Linked DNA regions of Homo sapiens: all the other regions are linked to region 3. Evidence: promoter capture Hi-C in human tissues and cell types (Jung and others, 2019). All regions are on one chromosome and are shown on one strand. The core of a region is centred on a gene start or on the middle of the fragment in contact, and the rest is flanking DNA. Distances in the headings are between cores, read along the strand shown.

Region 1 (2,700 bases), core at 22-2,521, 730 kb after region 3:
CTCATGTTGAATTGTACTCCCATAATTCCCATGTGTTGTGGAAGGGACCTGGTGGGAGATAATTTGAATCATGGGGGTGGTTCCCCCATACTGTTCTTGTGGTAGTGAATAAGTCTCACGAGATCTGATGGTTTTATCAGGGCTTTCTGCTTTTGTGTCTTCCTCATTTTCTCTTGCTGCTCCCATGTAAGAAGTTCCTTTCACCTCCCTCTATCAGGTCTCTGAGCCCAAGCCTGCACATATATCCAGATGGCCTGAAGCAACTGAAGAATCACAAAAGAAGTGAAAATGGCCAGTTCCTGCCTTAATTGATGACATTACCTTGTGAAATTCCTTCTCCTGGCTCAGAAGCTCCCCACTGAGCACCTTGTGACCCCTGCCCCTGCTTGCAAGACAACAACCCTCTTTGACTGTAATTTTCCACTACCTACCCAAATCCTATAAAACTGTCCCACCCCTAACTCCCTTTGCTGACTCTTTTTGGACTCAGCCCACCTGCACCCAGGTGATTAAAAAGCTTTATTGCTCACACAAATCCTGTTGGTGGTCTCTTCACACAGATGCACATGACATTTGGTCCTGAAACAAATTTGCCCCTGCCCCGGGCTGGCAAATTGACTTTACTCAAAAGCCCTGAGTCAGGAAACTAAAATACCTCTTGGTCTGGAAAGACACTTTCACTGGATATGTAGAGGCTTTTCCCACAAGGCCTGAGAGGGCCGCTGCAGTCATTTCTTCCCTTCTGTTAGACATAATTCACTTTCTTGCTCAGCCCCAACCTCTTCCCAGACACCAGCCCTCTAGGCGACTATCTTCCAGTCCTCCAGCAGGCTAGATAGGAAATTCGCTAGGTTGCTAATCTTCTCTTGCCTACTCCAGATTCCCAGCCATATAAAGACACGCTAGTGGGAATCAGTTCTTGTTAAGAATCCGATCCCTCAAACTCTACAACCTCATTGGACCAGACCCTACTTAGTCATCTATAATACCCCAACTGCCTCCACCTGCAGGACCCTCCCCACTGGGTTTACCATTCCAGAATAAAGCTGTGTCCATCAGACAGCCAGCTTGATCTCTCCTCTTCCTCCTAGAAGTCGCAAGTACTTATCCCTACTTCCCTTAAAGTCACCCACATTTCTAAAGAACAGTAGTGACCCTTATGAGCCTAATACATCCTTTCATTTTGTTAGGTCTATTCATCCTTACCCTACTCTTTGCAATAGTGCTTTATGCAGTCACCCCTACTACTTAAACTGCATCCTAAAAACTTTTCATCCTTGCTGTCTTCTGTCTAGTCATACTCTTATTCTTCGTTCTCACTTATCCATGAGTGCCCACCCTTGTCTACACTACTGGCTTATATTTTTTCTCCAAACCATCATAGCTGGTCCTGGTCTTATCCCCTAACCACCACTCTTAACTCCCTCTTACAGTGGATAAATGACCTTTGCTGAAAAAACACACTCCAATTCTTTCCCCTACTTTACATTTCTAGTTTTGCCTTACACAAGGTCTCTTCTTCCTCTGTGGCTCCTCTACCTACATGTGTCTACCTGTTAATTAGACAGGCACATGTACACTAGTTTTCCTTACCCCTAAAAATCAGTTTGCAAATATTACCGAACAGCTTCCTGTTCCCCTCATGACACCAATACTTCACCACTATCTTGTTTTGTTTTTCTTATTATTAATACAATAAGACGGGAATAGGTCTTGACTTACTGCTGAAAAAGGAGGACTCTGTATATTTTTAAATGAAAAGTGTTGTTTTTACCTAAATCAATCTGGCATGGTACATGGCAACATAAAAAAAAACTCAAAGATAGGGCCCAAAAACTCACCAACCAAGCAAATAATCATGCTGAACCTCCTTGGGCACTCTCTAATTGGATGTCCTGGGTCCTCCCAACTCTTAGTCCTCTAATACCTGTTTTTCTCCTTCTCTTATTCAGTCCTTGTGTCTTCCGTTTAGTTTCTCAATTCATACAAAACCGTATCGAGGCCATCACCTATCATTCTACACAACAAATGCTCTTTCTAACAACCCCACAATATCACCCCTTACCACAAAATCTTTCTTCAGCTTAATCTCTCCCACTCTAGGTTCCCATACCGCCCCTAATCCCACTCAAAGCAGCCCTGAGAAACATCGCCCATTATCTCTTCATACCACCTCCAAAAATTTTCACCACCCTAACACTTCACCACTATCTGGTTTTGCTTTTCTTATTAATATAAGACAGGAATGTCAGGCCTTTGAGCCCAAGCCTGCACGTATACATCCAGATGGCCTGAAGCAACTGAAGAATCACAAAAGAAGTGAAAATGGCCGATTCCTGCCTTAACTGATGATATTACCTTGTGAAATTCCTTCTCCTGGCTCAGAAGCTCCCCGACTAAGCACCTTGTGACCCCCACCCCTGCCTACAGGAGAACAACTCCCTTTGACTGTAATTTTCCACTACCTACCCAAATCCTATAAAACTGCCCCACCCCTAACTCCCTTTGCTGACTCTCCTTTCAGACTCACCTGCACCCAGGTGATTAAAAAGCTTTATTACTCACACAAAGCCTGTTGGTGGTCTCTTCACACGGATGCGCAAGACACCCACCATGATTCTGAGGCCTCCCAGCCATGTGGAACTGTAAGTCCAATTAAACGTCTTTTTCTTCCTAGTCTTGGGTATGTCTTTATCAGCA
Region 2 (2,700 bases), core at 135-2,634, 660 kb after region 3:
ATTTTAAGTGCCATAGGGAACACTCCAATAAACCATTGAGGCTCAGATGTAATTAGTGGCTCATTGTCTCTGACACCCTTCCATCCAGGAATTTCTTCTTTTTTTTTTTTTTAATTATACTTTAAGTTTTAGGGCACATGTGCACAACATGCAGGTTAGTTACATATGTATACATGTGCCATGTTGGTGTGCTGCACCCATTAACTTGTCATTTAACATTAGGTATATCTCCTAATGCTATCCCTCCCCCCTCCCCCCACCCCACAACAGGCCCCGGTGTGTGATGTTCCCCTTCCTGTGTCCATGTGTTCTCATTGTTCAATTCCCACCTATGAATGAGAACATGCGGTATTTGGTTTTTTTGTCCTTGCGATAGTTTGCTGAGAATGATGGTTTCCAGCTTCATCCATGTCCCTACAAAGGGCATGAACTCATCATTTTTTATGGCTGCATAGTATTCCATGGTGTATATGTGCCACATTTTCTTAATCCAGTCTATCATTGTTGGACAGTTGGGTTGGTTCCAAGTCTTTGCTATTGTGAATAGTGCCGCAATAAACATACGTGTGCATGTGTCTTTTTTGAAAAGATCAACAAAATTGATAGACCACTAGCAAGACTAATAAAGAAGAAAAGAGAGAAGAATCAAATAGAAGCAATAAAAAATGATAAAGGGGATATCACCACCGATCCCACAGAAATACAAACTACCATCAGAGAATAGTATAAACACCTCTATGCAAATAAACTAGAAAATCTAGAAGAAATGGATAAATTCCTTGACACATCCACCCTCCCAAGACTAAACCAGGAAGAAGTTGAAGGTCTGAATAGACCAATAACAGGCTCTGAAATTGAGGCAATAATTAATAGCTTACCAACCAAAAAAAGTCCAGGACCAGATGGATTCATAGCCGAATTCTACGGGAGGTACAAGGAGGAACTGGTACCATTCCTTCTGAAACTATTCCAATCAATAGAAAAAGAGGGAATCCTCCCTAACTCATTTTATGAGGCCAGCATCATCCTGATACCAAAGCCTGGCAGAGACACAACAAAAAAAAGGAATTTTAGACAAATATCCCTGATGAACATCGATGCAAAAATCCTCAATAAAATATTGGCAAACCAAATCCAGCAGCACATCAAAAAGCTTATTCACCATGATCAAGTGGGCTTCATCCCTGGGATGCGAGGCTGGTTCAACATACGTAAATCAATAAATATAACCCAGCATATAAACAGAACCAAGGACAAAAACCACATGATTATCTCAATAGATGCAGAAAAGGCCTTTGACAAAATTCAACAGCCCTTCATGCTAAAAACTCTCAATAAATTAGGTATTGATGGGATGTATCTCAAAATAATAAGAGCTATCTATGACAAACCCAGGAATTTCAATAAATGGAAATAACTAATCATGATATATTTGGCATTATGACCTACATTCATAAACAAGCAAAGGGACTTTTACAATTATATATTTAAATTACAGGTTATATGTTTCAAACTAGAGCTAATGTAAAATAGCAATTGTTACATAGAAATCAAAAAAGAAGATTCTGTAAAGTGATTCTGAAAACTCTATTGTATAACATAGTGAGTCTTGTGACTTTTGTGAAATAAATATTATAAAATAGGTAGAATTTAAATATCTGACATTACAAATTATTTGTAATTCTGGTTCAATATCAGCATATATATATAGTTATTTTGTTTGTTTTTATAGGGAAAATAAAGTAGAATTTTATACTTCTAGGAGGGAAAGATTCTTTAGCAAGTCAAATACTTTGGACCGTCAACCAATGGTGCCAGGGGTTTTGGGAGATCCATGACATAGAACATCCAGTCCTTGCTTGTAGATGTGTATAACCTGGTAAGGGAGAAAATAATGAAACATTTGAACTATCAAGAAAGCAGTTAAAAAATAAAAATAATTCATGTCTTGTAAAAATGTTCACTAATGCCAACATGGTTTTAACAAATCTAAAGTAATTTTGCCATGATTTGTTTTACTTGCCTAATTATAGACACAGGCTGCACCAGAGTATCCTGAGCCCAGGGAGTATTTCATTTGATAATTATTTTCTAATATTTATTTTTTCTCTTGAGTCTAAGAAGTAATCCCATACTAGGAGCAGTGGCACCTTCGAAGACTTCCTATTGAGATTTCAGAAGAAATTCTTTAGAATATTTTTTGTGCACCTGGTTCTAGGGATCCTCAGCTCCTCTCTCAGAACCCTTGTGCTCATTCTGAGCAAAAGTCAAATATATCTATTTCAAACTTTTTATTCGGGTTTGTTCTGTCTGTGTCATTTTTTTTAGAGTTGTTGCTGTGATACTATGGTTTTAAAAGATCTGAAAAGAATACCTGTCTGACTTATACCTTGCCACAATCTCCTTAAACTTTGGGGTTGGCCTATAAATGAAAGAAAAGGAAACGGAGAAACAAGAGAAGCAAGCAAGGATGAATAGGAAAAGGGCTTTGGAAGGGTGAAAAAGTCGATGTTTTTGTTTTTGTTTTGTTTTCAGGTGGAGGAAGGAGAAGAGAAATAATCTACTATTTTGCCTAGATCACATGAGTCATGAACTTGTGGTGGAGGTGAAAATAAACTCCTGGCCCTCCATCAATACTCTAACCACGAGACTGCCATTTCCTGCTTAGTTTTCAGAAATATATTTTATCGACCCTAAACT
Region 3 (2,700 bases), core at 147-2,646:
TCCAGGGACCTCTATCTTACAGCCAAATGCCCCCAGAATTACACAGCTCTGGATAAAGGAAAATGGTAGGCATCCTTAACAAGGACAAATTCTTTGAACTTTGATTCTCTTGAATAAAGAGATTTGCAGGCCATTGATACCCTTTGGGGTTGAACCTTGTTATTTGCTCTCTCATGTCTGCAGTCCTAGATTTGATAATAAATACCAACAGGTACGACTGGGCATTCTCAATGATTCCCCTTTCCCTCCACAGCCTTTGCCAAACTCATGCCCAGGACCTGCTTTTCTTTTCCTTTAACTTGAACATCAAGGATGTATTGTTGCAGCACGGAGACTGAAAAGATTGTAATTTTCTTTTATGGTGTCTGGCAGGATTTGCAACAGATATTAATGGGGACATAAATAGCACATGGAAGGTATTGAACAAAACTGTTTAATGCAAGAAGGTTGTACCAAAAGAAAATCTATACCTAGTTGGGATTGATTCATACCTTGTACACAGCTAGCCCCTTTAGGAATTCCCATTTCTGAGTGGCACTTCATTGGTAAATCCTGTAATTAAAGGAAATTTCAACAATGTATTTTTTTAAGAGTGTGTGATTTTCCTCCCTACTCCTCTTTCTTTTGACCCCGAGGTTGTAGGTTTAAGCGAGTGAGTGAAAATGGCAGGCAAGCAGAGCTGCATCGGGAGGCGACCGGGGCAGCAGTGGGGGAGGCCGGAAGGTGACAGCCGACCTCTGAGAAAGCAGGAGGTCTTTGGATGTCAAATGCCAGCGCCGGCCCGGACCCGGGAATCAAGGGTGATCATTACTACTTGGTAGGGAAAGAATACTGAAATGTCCCAAGGATGGCAGCAAGCATTGGTATTACAGCTAAAATCGAGGAAAAAACCAGTTATTTATTCTGCTTACAACCCTGAAAGCGGAAGCTGCAATAGCTTCAGTAGCAGTAGCAGCGGCAGCAGTAGATTTCTCAAGTTCAGGATGATTCTCACTTTCTCCTGGATTATTAGCCGAGGGTCCAGCCCTTCTAGTTCTTTAACAGGAGAAGGGTTTTTAAAAAATGTTTTTAAAGTTTTTTTCCCCCCTGGCTTCTTGCTTCCCTCGTAGATGGTATAGAAAAATGTCTGCAATTTATGGTGGGAAAAACAATAACAATAATCATGATACAAGCTTGTTGGCGATTCTAACATGGAATCAATCCTCTGCCCAAGCCTTTTCAATTCCCCCCTCCCCTTTTTTTGGGCGAGGTGTCTGCTCCCCTCTGGCTCCCTGCGTTCGCTCCCCGCCCCCCGCCGCCCTCCCCGCGGCTCCCTTTCTCCGCCTCCTCGGCGATTGCCATCTGACAAGATCTCCAAATCAAAGTGATAAATCGCTCCAAACTTTTTTTGGCGGCGCTGAGATGTTGGAGGGGCGTCTAGCGCGCATGTGCGAAGGTGTCCAAACTGACAATGCTGGAGAGATAGCGAGTGTGGATTGAGAGAAAGGGAGAGAGGGAGGGAGAGAGAGTGAAAGAAGAAAATACAGAGAGTGAGTGTGTGGAAGAGAGAGAGAAACAGGAGAGAAACAGGAGGGAGGGAGAGAGAGAGAGAGAGAGAGAGAGAGAGAGAGAGAGAGAGAGAGAGAGAGAGAGACAGGAGAGAGAGGGAGGGAGCGAGAGGGAGAGCAAAAGAAGGAAAGGATCCAAGAAAAAAAAGCCCCAACCACACACCAGCGGCTGCAGGACTGGGCACAGCATGAGATCCAAAGGCAGGGCAAGGAAACTGGCCACAAGTAGGTGCAATATCCCTTTTCTATTGGCTTTTCCCCCTCCTCTGCCATCTTGCATATCTGTCTCTAGCGCTCCGGGAGGGAGCGCGGGCTGCCTCTTGCGCCGGGGCCCCGGGTGGAGGGCAGGCGGAGCGCAGCCCCAGCAACCTGCCGGTTCCAGTCTCTGCTCCCGGTCGCCCGCGCTCTCGCTCCCGGGTTGGGCGCCGGAGGAGCCTGGGCAGCCCTCAGTCCCGCGCACCGACCAGCTGTGGCAACCCCGGGGTGGGGGTGGGGGTGGGGGCAGCAAAGACTAGGGGTGGGAGGGAGGAGAGAGCGCGAGAGTGAGCGCGAAGGGGTGGGGTGGGGGGGAAGAGAAGAGGAGAAAGTCTCCCCCTCCCCTCCCCTTCCCCCCAGGCGGGGGAGAGTTGCCTCTGGCCAACCAGCTAGTCCCGGGTGTGGGAGGAGGGGGGCGCGGGGGATGGGGGGCCGGCAGGAGAAGGGAGCCTTTTCGAGCCTCGGTTTGTTTCTGGGGTTTGGGTAGGGTAGGCGGCTCAGAGGGAGCCACAGTGGCGGCGGCGGCGGGCGGCTGTGGTGGACTTGGGAAAAGTTGCGAGGCGGCCGCTGGAAGTTGCGCGGGCGGGCGGGTGGACTGCGCCGAGCCGCGGCTGCGGTAGTGGGCGCTGTGCGCTCGGCCATGCTCTCCGGCGCGGCGCTGCGCGGCGGGAGGACTGCGGCGGGGAGTAGGGGACACCAAGGTGGGGGCTGTGATCGCGGGGTGGGGGCGGGGGCACGGGCAGAGCAGAGCTACCGGCTCCGCACAGCCACGCGCAGGTGGGGAGGAAAGAGGCCCAGCGAGCGCTCGGACGTGGGGAGAGAAGAGGCCCAGCGAGCGCTCGGAGAGCCGGGAGTGGAGGGCACACAGCCAGCGGCGGCAGCCTAGGAGCAGGAGGCA

Evidence for each region. The method cuts DNA at HindIII sites, captures the fragments that hold promoters and counts their contacts. A contact is called where the count stands out against the background at its distance.
Region 1: a contact is called between a fragment that was not itself captured here and the fragment with the promoter of MECOM in region 3, in 1 of the 25 tissues and cell types used here (H1 embryonic stem cells).
Region 2: a fragment that was not itself captured here is called in contact with the fragment with the promoter of MECOM in region 3 in 1 of the 25 tissues and cell types used here (dorsolateral prefrontal cortex).

Annotation. Positions count from the first base shown.
Region 1 is chr3:168,930,827-168,933,526 of GRCh38, reverse strand. No RefSeq gene overlaps it. Among named protein-coding and RNA genes, the nearest start is that of LINC02082, 30 kb to the right of the region's middle. The HindIII fragment of the contact is 5,448 bases long and covers 1-2,700 here.
Region 2 is chr3:169,004,335-169,007,034 of GRCh38, reverse strand. LINC01997 (long intergenic non-protein coding RNA 1997) reads right to left here. Exons shown (of 3, transcript XR_924689.3): 2 at 1,757-1,876; 3 at 92-1,040. Among named protein-coding and RNA genes, the nearest start is that of LINC01997, 2.7 kb to the right of the region's middle. The HindIII fragment of the contact is 4,556 bases long and covers 1-2,700 here.
Region 3 is chr3:169,662,408-169,665,107 of GRCh38, reverse strand. It overlaps MECOM (MDS1 and EVI1 complex locus), which reads left to right and starts at 1,396. Exons shown (of 17, transcript NM_004991.4): 1 at 1,396-1,772. The coding sequence starts at 1,736. RefSeq lists a silencer at 2,405-2,504. The HindIII fragment of the contact is 10,305 bases long and covers 1-2,700 here.